Linked DNA regions of Homo sapiens: region 1 is linked to region 2. Evidence: promoter capture Hi-C in 16 types of primary human blood cells and fetal thymus (Javierre and others, 2016). All regions are on one chromosome and are shown on one strand. Each heading gives the region's core, a stretch centred on a gene start or on the middle of the fragment in contact. The rest is flanking DNA. Distances are from core to core; before and after follow the strand shown. Region 1 holds the start of C21orf91 (chromosome 21 open reading frame 91). Region 2 holds the start of HSPA13 (heat shock protein family A (Hsp70) member 13).

The links. The method cuts DNA at HindIII sites, captures the fragments that hold promoters and counts their contacts. A CHiCAGO score of 5 or more calls a contact.
Region 1: a contact is called between the fragment with the promoter of C21orf91 here and the fragment with the promoter of HSPA13 in region 2, in 4 of 17 cell types (M0 macrophages, total B cells, total CD8 T cells and 1 more). The highest score is 8.2, in M0 macrophages.

The regions. Positions count from the first base shown.
Region 1 is chr21:17,815,661-17,822,461 of GRCh38, reverse strand. It overlaps C21orf91 (chromosome 21 open reading frame 91), which reads left to right and starts at 3,106. Exons shown (of 5, transcript NM_001100420.2): 1 at 3,106-3,159; 2 at 4,137-4,270. The coding sequence starts at 4,144. The region is part of intron 2 of LOC124900465 (a long non-coding RNA gene); the gene reads right to left. RefSeq lists an enhancer at 2,412-2,461 and a silencer at 2,712-3,491. The HindIII fragment of the contact is 2,618 bases long and covers 1,042-3,659 here.
Region 2 is chr21:14,379,361-14,386,247 of GRCh38, reverse strand. It overlaps HSPA13 (heat shock protein family A (Hsp70) member 13), which reads left to right and starts at 3,102. Exons shown (of 5, transcript NM_006948.5): 1 at 3,102-3,153; 2 at 4,705-5,045. The coding sequence starts at 3,129. It overlaps LOC105369304 (a long non-coding RNA gene), which reads right to left and starts at 3,482. Exons shown (of 2, transcript XR_007067924.1): 1 at 1-3,482. RefSeq lists enhancers at 2,566-2,695, 3,086-3,395. The HindIII fragment of the contact is 7,322 bases long and covers 1-4,005 here.

The DNA of each region.
Region 1 (6,801 bases), core at 1,857-4,356, 3.4 Mb before region 2:
TTTAAAAATTTCGACATTCAATCTTTGTAATGCTGGCATAACTAACACAAGTTTAATGGCTTGAAACAACACCCATTTATTATCTCACAGTTCTGTAGGTAAAAATTCCAGTACAGCATGATTCAGTTGACTCCTCTATTTAGAATCTCATAAGGCTGAAATCAAAGTGTTGGAAGATTGTTCAAATGAGCTTCTCAATCTATGCAGGCTGTTGGCTGAATTCTGTTCCTTGCAGTTTAAAGACTGTAGCTCCCATTTCCTTGCTGGCTACCAGCTGGAGACCAGTGTTTGCTCCTAGAGCAATGGTGGGTCAAGTCCCTCTCATGCTTCTAATCACTTTGACTTTCTCTTTGCTACATTTCTCTGAGCTTACTTGGAGAAAGATCTCTGGTTATAAGGGTTCATGTGATTAGATTGGGCTCAGCGCAATAATCCAGGAAAACCTATTTTAAAGTTTATAACCTTAATTATATCTACAAAGTCTCTTTTGCTATGTTACATACATATTCAAAATATCCAAGAATTAGCGTGTGGACATCTTTTTCTCTTTTTTTTTTTTTTTGAGACAGAGTCTTACTCTGTCACCCAGGCTGGAGTGAAGTGGCACAATCTCAGCTCACACAACATCCACCTCTAGGACTCAAGCCAGTCTCCCACCTCAGCCTTCTGAGTAGATGGGACTACAGGCATGCACCACCCTGCCTGGCTAATTTTTGTGGGGTTTTTTGGTAGAGATGGGGTTTCACGATGTTGCCCAGGCTGGTCTCGAACACCTAGACACAAACGATCAGCCCACCACAGCCTCCCAAAGTGCTAAGATTACAGGTATGAGCCCCCATGCCCCACTGATCCCCAGCGTTGGAGGTGAAGCTTGGTTGGGGAGTGGAGAGCAAGGGGTTGGAGCTTAGTTATGGATCCCTGATGAATGGCTTGGTGCCATTCTCTAGGGTGTGAATCAATTCCCACTCTTAATTCCCAGTGGAACTCGTTTTTAAATAAAATAAAATAAAAAATAAAAAATAAATAAAGAGAGAGCAAGCTTGGAATTTCCTCCCCTCTCTCTCTTGCTCACTCTCAGGCCACATGATCTCTGCACATACTGGCTCTCCTTTGCCTCCTATCATGAATGGAATCAGCCTGAGGCCATCACCAGAAACAGATGCTGGCACCATGCTTCTTGTACAGCCTCCAGAACCATGAGCCAAATAAACCTGTTTTCTATATAAATTATCCAGCCTTGGGTATTCCTTTATAGGAACACAAACTGACTAAGACGAGCAGTGAAAAGAAACCACTGTTACAAAATACCATCGTGAATCTCAAAAACATGCTGCATGACAATAGCCAATCACAAATGAACACACACTGCTTAATTCTATGTATATGAATTCCTATAACAGACAAAACTAAAACACTTCGTCATATAAATTAGATCCCATGTTGAAGGAGCTTGACCAGAAAGGAACAGAAAGAAATGTCGGGGCTGTGGAAATGTTCTGTATCCTCACTGGGGTGGTGGTTACTCAAGTGTATGTATTTGCCAAAACTCATCAAATAATGCTTTTAAAATGGAAGCATTTTATTTCTGTAAATTATTCCTTGATTTTTTTTAAAAAGCCAACAACAAGAGAGAAGAGTTTTAAGAATAGCAAGTAAACAATGTGAAATGCCATAGGAAGGAAGACAATTCTGAGAAGTGAAAATAACTTGTTTCAATTTTTAAATTTTAGTGATTTTAGAACACTTTTATTGAATCACTTTAAAAGAGTCCTTTTTAAAAGAATGCTTTTTATTGAAAAGATGGGTAGAATCCAACATGCAAGGTATCTTAGTCGTAGTTACCTAGAATGAGAAATTCGAAGAGAAAAAGCACAGGCTTTTCATTTCAATTAGTGCATCTCAAACTTCGATGAACATAGGAATCTCCTGGCGGTCTTGTTAAAGTGCAAGTATTGATTTAGGAAATCTCGAGTGGGGCCTGAGATTCTACATTTCTAACAGGAAACCAAGTAATGTCAATGTTGTTTGTTCATCTACTACAATTTAGGTGGCAAGGACACAGATCGCTCCTGCGAGGCACAAATGCCATAACTGGAGTGCTAATTTGGCCCAGAAGTTTCCAAGATCTAGACAGTCCATTCCTAACCATCAGTTCAAGAATGCCTACATGTAGATTGACAGGCTAGCCCTCTTTCTATGTGAGTGCAACCAGAACACATACATATGATGCTGTAGAAAATAACATTGATCTTAGGTCAGTAGCCTTCGGTTCAAGTCCCAGCCTTTTTCTAACCAACTGTGATAACCTGGGTCAATTACTCGTAGGCTGCAACATGAGAGAACAGTTCCTGTTTCTCCTCTGTAGGTTACTGTGAGGACTACAATGGAAAATGTAAGTGAAAGTACTGCAAGAACCATACCCTAAAAAAAACAGAATAGCTTAAACAAAAGTCAAGCAAAGAATTTGAGAACCAAGCAGGACCTAAAAATAAGAGGTGGGGCTTCGGGATTTTTCCCGTGGGCGTTGAGGGATGTACCATATTGGGGGCAGGGGCGCCCCACAACAAATAATGTATTTGAAAAGATTCTGTATTTGAAATTATGCCTCTATCATGACACCTGAATATGAACTTTTCCTTCGTTAGATACTTCAACTGGCACTTAACTATAAGTTCAGTGACAGTATTCTGCTTCTTTCTCCTGAAGTCAAAGTGCCACCCACGCACCTCTCCCGTTCTGCCATCCACCCGCGGCTTTCCTACCCCCGCCGCCTGCGGCCCCCGCCCCGGGGCAGTAGTTTGCACTAGGCTGAAGGGAGAGGTGGAACGGATTCGTCTATCTACGCACCTCGAGGAGGGGTGTGTGAGGAGCTACGTTCCAGAGAACGGTAAGAAACTCCGGCCAGGAAACACGGGATCACAGGAGAACTCGAGGCGAAGGTGCGGCGTCGGTGCAGGAGCGGAGGGGCGGACCCACAGCAGCCCGGCGAGCGCGCAGGTGTGCCCGCGGCCGCGCCACCCTCCCCGCAGCCTTTACGGGATGGAGCCGGCGGGAGAGGGCGGGGCCAGGCGCGCGGCGGCCGCCTCTGCTGCGGCCGGAAACAATAGTGGAGGAACCCGAGCCGCACGGAACGGCGGTGGTGGCCCGCGGAGCCGGACGGTAAAGACCCCGCAGCCCTGCTCCCATCCCACCTGAGCCCCGACCCCCAGTCCCATCGTTCCGCCTCCTTCGAGTTCCGAGCCCCGTGGCCCCTCGCGCTGCTGCGCGCCAGGCGCCCCGACGGACAGACCGACGGAAAGACGGACTTGGGTCCGCGACTCCCTGGGGGCGGCCGCGCGCCCCCAACGCCGAAGGCCGGGCCAGGACCCGGCTCCCCGAGACGCTGAGGCTGGGCGGACCGGCCGCCGTGGCCCTCGGACGCTTTCTTCCCTCTGGGAGGAATCCCGGAGCGATGGGACGAGGCTCTCCCGCCCGCCGGGCTCCAGGATGCCGCGGCTCTCCCAGCTCCGGCTTGGGCCCCTCCGGCGGTGCCCGGCCGGTACCGTGAAGCCGCCGCTCGGCCTTCGGTGTAGTTGCCCCGGACACGGCGGGACGCCCTCCCCGGGTATTCGGTACCCACGTGCATTTTGCTGCCGCCGATCTCCGTTCGATGCGAAGCTTCGCAACTCCGAGTTCGCGAGGCGCATCTGAGGTTCCCCCAATGAAGTTAGCAAAGCAGTGTCCCGTGCAGGTCGTTTTTCCTGTTTCTCACAGCGTTAACTAGGTTGACAGAACCTGGTAGCTGAAAAGGCCTCGCTGCTAAGCCCTCTGATTATTCGAGGTTGGGGGACGAAGGAGGAGGACTAGAATGCCGGCAAATCTCTTTCCTTCAGGTGCCACTAACCCAATCAACTATAGGACAAAAAAGACACGGACATAGTGTCACCTATGGCCTGGCTTTAAGTTTTACTAGCTTTGTGTCTTTCCACAGGAAAAGTGCAATGTTGGAGTGCAAGTATGGCGATGCTTGTTTGATGGAGCTTTTGCTTTAAATGAGCTGAACAGCATCCTTATTTCCTAGAAGTTCCCAGTAAAGGGAACTACCCCAAAGGCAGGTTCATGAAATTGTGTAACTTTCCTTTTCTGTTTCTTAATAGGGGCACTATGAACGAAGAGGAGCAGTTTGTAAACATTGATTTGAATGATGACAACATTTGCAGTGTTTGTAAACTGGGAACAGACAAAGAAACACTCTCCTTCTGCCACATTTGTTTTGAGCTAAATATTGAGGGTAAGGACACAGTATAGTTTTGATCTTATGGAATGAATTTAACACAGCTGCTTTGTACTGATTGTAAGGTAAAACTAAAATGTCTTCAATGATTGGAAATTGTGCTAAGTATGAATAGTGTAGAGATTTGTTAAAGATAAGGTTTCTGGAAATGAAGGTGCAGTTAACAGAGTTACGAATTTAAGAGAAATCTTTTTTTTTTAAAGACCCCTGCAACAACCCCATTTTTCCTAATACAGAAATAAGTATGAGTGTTGACTGGGAAACGTGTTTTCTGGTTTGAGAGCTTATTGAATTGTCAGATTTTAACAGACCTGTGTGTTTTTTATATTAAGAAGTAACATAACAATTTTTTTATTCTTTCGAGCCTATTATGCAAGTATTTGAGTGAGATGAGCCCGAACTCTTTTCTCACCAGTATGATCTTATTATCTGGAAAAATACTTTAAAATTTTTAGATTAACCTCTTTTCAGTGATCACACACACTGTTGGTAATTTTTAAAACCTGAAAAGGTTTTTAAAATTTTTTTAATAATGTCCCTAAGATATATGAAGAAAAATTCTCCAAATCCAAAAAGAAACCCCAAAAAAAAGCCCTATTGGAAGGATTTATTTGGGTTGGTGCAGTTAGTGTTGTCATATTACAATTGATTTTTGGTTTAGATATTTATGAGTCATACTAAAAAAAACCTTAATATTCCTGCAAAAAAAATTTGGCCTGTAATTTGAGTTTTGAGTTGTAACATATCAGTAGAGAGACTTTATTAAACCTCTAGATTTTGGACAGTTTCAAAATAGTTCTTTCCTTTTTTCTGTATTATATATTTGAAATTTTTCATGATCTTTATTTTCTGTTTACTAAGTATGGGGTATGAAATGTTCTTATTGTTTAAAAAAATATAGTGGGGGATTATATACCTTGAAATTCCTGTTAGGACTTGTTATTCAGAAATTATTATGGTCACCAAACAGTATGTGATGGAAGATTATGGATTTCTTGTGGATTACATAGAATATCTATAACTTCAGCTTTAATAAATGTAGTGATTATAGCTAATTTCAAAAGATGACATAACAGGAACAGTGGTGTGTTCCTACAATCTCAGCTACTCCAGAGGTTAAGGTGAGAGGATTGCTTGAGCCTAGGAGTTCAAGTCCAGTTTGGGCAACATAGCAAGACCCCATCTCTAAAAAATTAAATAAAAATAAAAGGATATCTTAAAAATAAGTTTCTTTTACAGTACTTAAATCATGCTGGGGTGAAAATCCAAATTTATGTTCTTTGGAAATAGAGTTGGCTTGTATATTGTTGATACATTGTAGAATTTTAATTTTAGATGAGTAAAGACATTAGAAATTATCTAGTCCAAACCCTGTATTTTACATTTAAGGAAACAGCCAAAAAGTTGGACTGCCCAGGGTTGCTGTAGTGGTGATGGCAAGCTGTTGTTATGTGCCAGGCACTGTGCTAAACCCCTTATGTGGATTATCTTATTTAACTCAAGATAGCTTTGGAATGACTACTGTCATTTTCTATTTTAAATGTGATAGAACTGAACCTTGGCGACCTAAGAAATACAGTTTGAAGTCACACAGCTCATAACTGTTGGTCCTGGACTTTAAAGCCTGGCAGTCTGGTTCTAGTATATGTGATCTTAATACCATTGATCTACTGTCAATAGTTATTTTATAGCAATAGGGCTGATGTTCTAATCCTAATTGGTTATCCTTGCTATTCTCTCAGCCAGCTTTTTCTAACCAGTGTTTGCTGGCAAATCATCATTAATGGAGTTCATGCCATGATCGAATTTTTCCACAGAACCCTAAATTTTCGTAATTGCTTTTCTAGCTTTTTAAAATAAGCCTTTTAACTGGTTCTCAGTCATTATATAGAGAATATACAAATATTACCTTAGGTACCATCTCTTAACATTTCAGCTCTGATAATATCTCAGCATGTAAGCATGGAATAAGTCCTTTGTTTTTGAAATCATAGTTCCCTTCAGTGTAAAAGACAATTCTCAATTTGAATTAGAACTATTTCGTTTAATATTCTATGTATATTCAAGGTTTTATATATTAAAATCCCAATTTAATCTTTGTAAGAAAAATTAGAGTCAAATAATTTCTTCTCTATCTGGTGTCATTTCTCAGCTCTCACAAATACGCATTTTCATTTTCACTACAGTGATCAGCTAGTGTATTACAACTTTTTTGTTTAAGATTTTTGTAGGCCGGCACAGTAGCTCATGCCTGTAATCCCAACATTTTGGGAGGCCAAGGCAGGCGGATCACCTGAGGTTGGGAGTTCGGTACCAGCCTGACCAACATGGAGAAACCCCGTCTCTACTAAAAATACAAAATTAACCAGGCATGGTGGCACATGCCTGTAATCTCAGCTACTCAGGAGGCTGAGGCAAGAGAATCGCTTGAACCCAGGAGGTGGAGGTTGCAGTGAGCTGAGATTGTGCCATCGCACTCCATCCTGGGCATCAAGAGCAAAACTCTGTCTCAAAAAAAAAAAAATTAT
Region 2 (6,887 bases), core at 1,853-4,352:
GGTGTTCCTTCCACCTCAGTCTCCCGAGTAGCTGGGGCTACAAGCATGTGCTGCTGCTGAGCCTAAAGTCCATTTTCTGTTTCCTCTGTAGTATTAAGTTTGTAGTTTTGTCACTTAACATGCGCAAGGACTATATACCCATTAAATTCTTATCTTAAATATTCCAAATAAATTTTATTGTCATTTTATCAAGTCATAAAATATCCTGCTGGCTTTTTATTTGATATTTCACTGAATTCAAAGATATAAAAAGAACTGGCACCCTTAAAATAATAACCCCCTGGCATACAAATTATGGTCTCCAGATACCACACTTTCTTAATAAAAGAAAGCAGGGTTCCTTAGACATACAGTTAATTATAAGTATGAAACAAAACAAAACAAACAAAAAAAAATAAGAGGATTCTAGATATCTTTTTAGAGCAGGTAGCAAGGCAGTAAGTAAAGCGATTGTGTCAAAAGCATTCATGAGTGAATTTTGAAGAGGCTGCCATCGGCCAAAATTAAAGCAATCTAAGTATCAAGAAGGATAATAATTGCAATGGATTGTAACATAAAACACCAAACAATAACTATAAAAACAACGAATTAATTGGTCACTATTGGAGAATGATAACAATGATTACTTCCCAACCCCAGTGCCTTGACTTTTCTGTTCTTTATAACATTACTGGAATAGTCTCACCAGCATTCTTATCTAAGTATTTCATTGTTCCTCTGATTGTAAACAAACAAGAAGGGATAAGTGGTATCAGTTACTACCCCATTTAGTTGATTTAGATAATGAGATGCGAGACTTTTGAACTGATGAAGTATAGATGAACTTTCTGGACTTTGAGTTCATGCTATAATGGGATGGGACTTTGGTGGATGTTGCATTTTGTATGTGGACAGATGTGAATCTGAGGGGCCACAGAACCATTTTAGTAGGCATAATAAAGGCCTCCTCAAACTGTTAGAACTCGTGAATAGTTACCTTACATGGCAAAACGGACTTTGCAGATATGATAAGTTTACAGGGTTTGAAATGGAGATTACGTTGAGTTGTCCAGATAGGTCCAATGTAAACACATGACATCTAAAATTTGGAAGAGCGATGCAAAAAAATGTCCTCTGTAAAGGACCTGACCCGCTGTTGCTGGCTTTGAAGATGGAGAAAGAGGGTCTCTGAGCTAAGATATGTGTATGGCCTCAGAAACTGGAAACAGCTCTCAGGTTACAGCCAGCAAGAAAATGAAGACCTGAACCCTACAACTGCAAGAAAATGAATTCTGCCAATAACTCAAATTAGCAGGAAACTGATTCTCCCCTAGAACATCCAGAAAGGAATGCAGCTTTGCTAATAACTTGCTTTTAGTTAAGTGAGACCCATACCAAATTTCTGATATACCGAACTGTAAAAATAATAGATTTGAGTTGGTTTAAGACACTAAATTTGTGGTAATTTGTTAAGGCAGAAATAGAAAATGAATACAACCTATTTAGTTCAATCTTAATTCTAAAGGCCTTCTACTCTGAGATCACATAATCTTTACCTGCTTCTTGAACAAATCAGGATCTTGTTAGCAAGGAGAAAGGAGTGAGTGGCAGGGAGAATCCCAATGACCAGTGCTTGTCACAGACGGCTAATCTTAATCTGGTTTAAGTCTCTAGTTCTGTCTCTCAGAATTCTACCTCATGCTTTATGATCCACCACTTTCTAATCTATGGAATAGATGATCTCTTGCTTCTGTGCTCTTGGTAATTGAGTTCCGTCTGCCTGGAACACCTCCAGCCCACTGCCCATTACAAGTAATACTTAAGAACTAAGTGCTTGAATTCTTCACTCCTTATAAGAATCTTATTGAACAGCACTCACTATAGACACACACTTTTTATATTTCGCATTATGAAATACTTAAAAATGCGCAAAAGTAGAGAGAACATTACAATGGATCCCTATCAACCAGAATTCAGCTTCCATAATCAAAATTCACATTGATAAGTCAGAAATAACCAGCAATGTATTCCCACAGCAGGCTGACGTGTTGTCAACAGGGATGGTTTGATTTATATCTAAGCTGAGAAAATGGATTCAATTCTCCAGGATCTTAGTTATCGTGAACTCTAACAGCAAAAATGACAAAACCACTCTCAGAGGAGTCATTAAGTGCTACCAGTGACCAAGATGCGAGAAAAATCCTACTTCAGACTAGAACCTGAACAGCATGTCACAAGCGTCCTAAAATGGCTGTCACGTTACAGGACTTGCCCATAAGGTCAATTTTGGCCACTTAAGACTTACTTGAAGAGAGAGCTAAGGGTTTTCTTTTTAATTTCGTTTTTGTTTTTGTTTTTAATGGCCCACGTCAGTGCTAGCAATAGAGAAAATGTGTCCCTGATCCCTTGGATAAATCGAATTGACTGAAGAATGCTTGAATTCATTTATCCCAAAACAAAGGCAGACGGCTGAGGGTCACTGGAGTTTCAGGGCTGCTCCCAGCGTTGGAGCACGGACGCCAGAGCCGACTTCCCTCAGGCCCCGCACTGCGGCAGGGACCCTTCTACGGAGGATGGCTGGGGCTCCGGGAGGCTATAGGAACGCCATCTAGAAGCTAGATCTCAGGCAAACGAACGCGCTTTAAAAGGAATTAAAACGAAAGAACACAAACTCGAATCCTGGACCTGATTAGGGGCACGACCAAAGAAAGAAATAACTAACGGTTCTCACCCTCCCTTTCATTCCCTCCCGCGGAAAGAGAAAGGCTGGAACTCCGCTTCCCAGAATGCAAAGCGCGGGGCGGGGCTAAAGAGATAGCCTGTTTTCCCTCAAGTAGGATCGCGGGACCACAGGTTTGATTATAAACGCCAGTCTCTCGCCACGGCGCTCCTCCCCCTCAGTCTCACTGGTCCTGCCGGCCGTTGCGTGGAAGGGGGACTCAGTCGTCACTGGCAGCGGTTGAATGGAGGCTCTTTGCCCCGCGCCCTCACGGTAGATGAAGTCCTTGCTTTGGTCAGAGCGATAGCTTCTCCGATTGCCTCAGAGCAAGCGGACTACATTTCCCAGGGGGCTGCGGGACTGCCGGGAGGAGTGGGGGCGGTGCCTCACGTCTGGTACAGTCATCACAAGCCTGTTCGGCGGGACTGTGATGGCCAGAGAGATGACGATCTTAGGTGGGTTCCCGGGGGTCCTTGTTGCTCTTGCGGGCGTAGAGGCGATCTGAGGATGCCAGAGTGGGCAGGGGTGGTTGACTCACCTCCTGGATCTAGCTGGAGCAGCGGAAGGGGAGTCAGAAAGGTGACTTAGAGACGGTTTTCGGCTGTTCGGAGTGGATGGGGGCGGGGACGCCTCTAGGAGGGCCCCGGCCCCTGCAGGCCAAGGTAGGATAGACGGCGACCAGCTGTGTCCATCCCAGGGACATCAGGCTTAGGGAGGCGTTCCTTTCAACAGCACCTAGGTTTTTGAATTGCCTGTTGAATTGGGGCAAGCTATGGAAGGCTGCGAGAACGTGCACCTCCAGGACCCCTTTGTGGAGGAAGGGGGAGGAGCTACATCCGGATCTGTCGGCTCAGGGATGCTGAATTTGGAGGCTTTTTCCATCACATCGGGTTTGGAATTACCTATCCCCCACCCACACACACACCCACCCCGCGTCTCCAAGGTGATGAAATGCTTCTGAAATGTTGCCTGTAGCTGGAAGTGGAAAGTGGGATTCGCACTTGGTTTTATTTCTTTGAGTTATGTGTTGATGAGGATGAGCTAACAATTAGTAACACAGAGCCCTGAAAATTCATGTTTTGGGTCATATGTAATATGAGCGGACACAGGTGTATAACACAGCCTCCTGATACCAAATACGAGATTCATTAAAAACTAAAGGGGCATCTTTCTTCGCTTATGTTTACAATCTGCGTGGCATTTGTTCCTACTCTTTTTTCTTTTTTTTTTAAATTAGTATTTGTTGGGCATCTGCTATTCCTGGTCTGGGGGATACAACAGTGAACGAAACTTGTCTTCAAGAAGCTTTCATAGATGTTGCCGTCAGGGTTGCCCACCTTTATGCTTCTTCTCCCCTAAATATTACCACTGCAAGAAGGAAGTCCCTAGTTCATACTTAAATACATAAAAAGTTAACTGTGTTCTGTTTTGAAGTGACAGTTTCATATCTAAGGAACTTTCAAAATCATTTTATCCCATTTATTCATTTCATCCTTTTGAAAGGGAAAAGGAGGTGAGATACGAGGAGAGAATTTTAGACTTATAAAATAATAAAGTTTTTCTTGTGAGAATTTTAATAATGGAGCTTTTAAAAAAAGATAATCGAAGCTTTTTATAAAGCTGTAAAATCTAAATATCAATTGATCAAGAATATTAGATTATATCTGGCTTTTGCTCCAGATAAATGTTGTTTCTTGTCAGCATCTGCACAAATATTATTGAAATATTTTTACATTTTATTACATTTATTAGAGAATGACACAAACATACAGTTATAGGGTTTTTTGTTGTTTGTGTTTACTTCATTTTAAATTTTATTATAACCAGTTTACATTTTGAAAAACTTGCTGTCTGAGAGGAGTGCTATCAGCAGTCCTATAAAAAATTTTGAAATTTGTCTTTTTTAGCCTTGTTTCAACGAGTGATATTAAAGGGACTTTGCTACAGTAATTTAGTACATTGTACTAGTTTGATAAAATACATCTTTTAATTTTCCTTTATTTCAGGATCGGCTGTTTTGACTCTCCTGTTGGCCGGCTATTTGGCACAACAGTATTTACCATTGCCTACTCCTAAAGTGATTGGTATTGATCTTGGCACCACCTATTGTTCTGTTGGGGTGTTTTTTCCTGGCACAGGAAAAGTAAAGGTGATTCCAGATGAAAATGGGCATATCAGCATACCCAGCATGGTGTCTTTTACTGACAATGATGTATATGTGGGATATGAAAGCGTAGAGCTGGCAGATTCAAATCCTCAAAACACAATATATGATGCCAAAAGATTCATAGGCAAGATTTTTACCGCAGAAGAGTTGGAGGCTGAAATTGGCAGATACCCATTTAAGGTAAGTGATTAATCTAAAATCTATATTAATTTTAGTGTACTCTTTTAGTTAATGCTTTGGCTTCATGTCACAAAACATTCTATCTCGTCTAGTTTTATCTATTAATACATGAAAGTTCTGTTATCTCACATAACCAGAAATTCCACAGCAGCTATAGGATCAGTTAATCACTGACTCCATAATGCTAACAGGTACTTAAGGCCTTGCCATTTTCTTGCTGTCCCATCCTCAGCATGTCTTGCTTAGCTCTTTCAAGGTAGCAGGAAGGTTGATGAAGCCCTGTGTACCATAGATAGATATTCTGTGTGTGTATGTGTACATATTTATATACATATAAAGAGAACATACCAGGTGTGCTATTTTTTGCTATTTAATATGTCATGGATAATTAATAGGATCATGTCATTATCTTTAATGATTTTGTGGAATGACTATTCCATTATTAATTAGACTAGTCTCTATCAGTGTACTTTTTTGTGGTTTTTCACTAATGTTGGAGATTCCGGTAATATCCTTACTTATCTTTGTACACTTCTCTGAAAGTTTCCTAACTTGAATGCTAGAAGTCTAATTGATAGGTCAAATGTGTACGTTTTTAAGGCTTTTGATTTATTTTTCTGGTTTGCTCACCAGAAAGGTTATATGCTCTTAACCATAATTTTTTAGAGTGGCTGTATCTTCGCTAGTTATTTTTTTTAATCTTTAACAGTCAGATAAGTGAAAAATAGTATCCTGTATTAATTTTTATTTATTTTGATTTTTTTTAGTGAGATCAGAATTTTTAGAATTTTATTGATATTTTAATTTTCTTTTATGGTCCATTTTTCTTTGTCCTTTTTTGTTTTGGTGTGTTTTTCTTTTCCTTAGTGAGCTATAAAAGACCTTCATTATATGTTTTTGTTATCTTTTCCTTACCTTTTTTTTTTCACTGATGTTTTTGAGCTGGATGTCAAAGTTTTAAATTTTTGATTTTAGACTCTTATCATGTTTACTGTAGCCTATCCCATCCTATCCACTGCTACTTTTTTTTCCCTCTTAATACGTTTATGTATTTGTTGGTTTGGATTTCGCTGCTTTTTTTTTCTTTTAAACATTTAAAGCTTTTTTCCATGTGGAGTTTTTCTTGGAAGTTATGAAGTGAAATTCTAAATGAAGTGAAATTCTAAATGAATTAGTTTTTGTTTTTTTTTTTGAGACAGTCTCATTCTGTCTCTCAGGCTGGAATGCAATGGCATGATCTTGGCTCACTGCAACCTCTGCCTCCCAGGTTCAAGTGATTCTCCTCCCTCAGCCTCCCAAGCTGGCATTACAGGCGTGTGCCACCACGCCTGGCTAATTTTTGTATTTTTAGTAGAGACGGGATTTCACCATGCCGGCCATTATTTAGTTTCAAAATAGACAGTTGTATCAGTGCTGCTTATTGAATAAACCTAGCCATAAAAATGTTCAAATTTTTCATCCGTTTTCAAAGAAAAAAAAATTGCTCCCTGCATTTCTTAGGTTTATTACTTTGTTGTTTTTTGACTTCTTTTTTGGGATTCTTTACTGACTTACAATCTTTAATGAAAAAATCATCTAAAGCTATATATGCCCTCTGAATTACAGCTTTGGGTACGTTACTTATTGACCCAAAAACTACTTAATGTTTCTAAGTGATCTGATTTTTTTGTTGTTGTTTTTGTTTCATGTGGGCACTGATGGTTCTGGTATATTTGTATCTTAGTTTAATATTGTCCATGTAGCTTCTTTATGTTTTCCCCAGACTAGTGAAGTACTTTTTGGAAGGTCAGTTTTTCATGATGGAAACCTAACTATGAGGCCTGAAGTGAGAAAACATTCTTA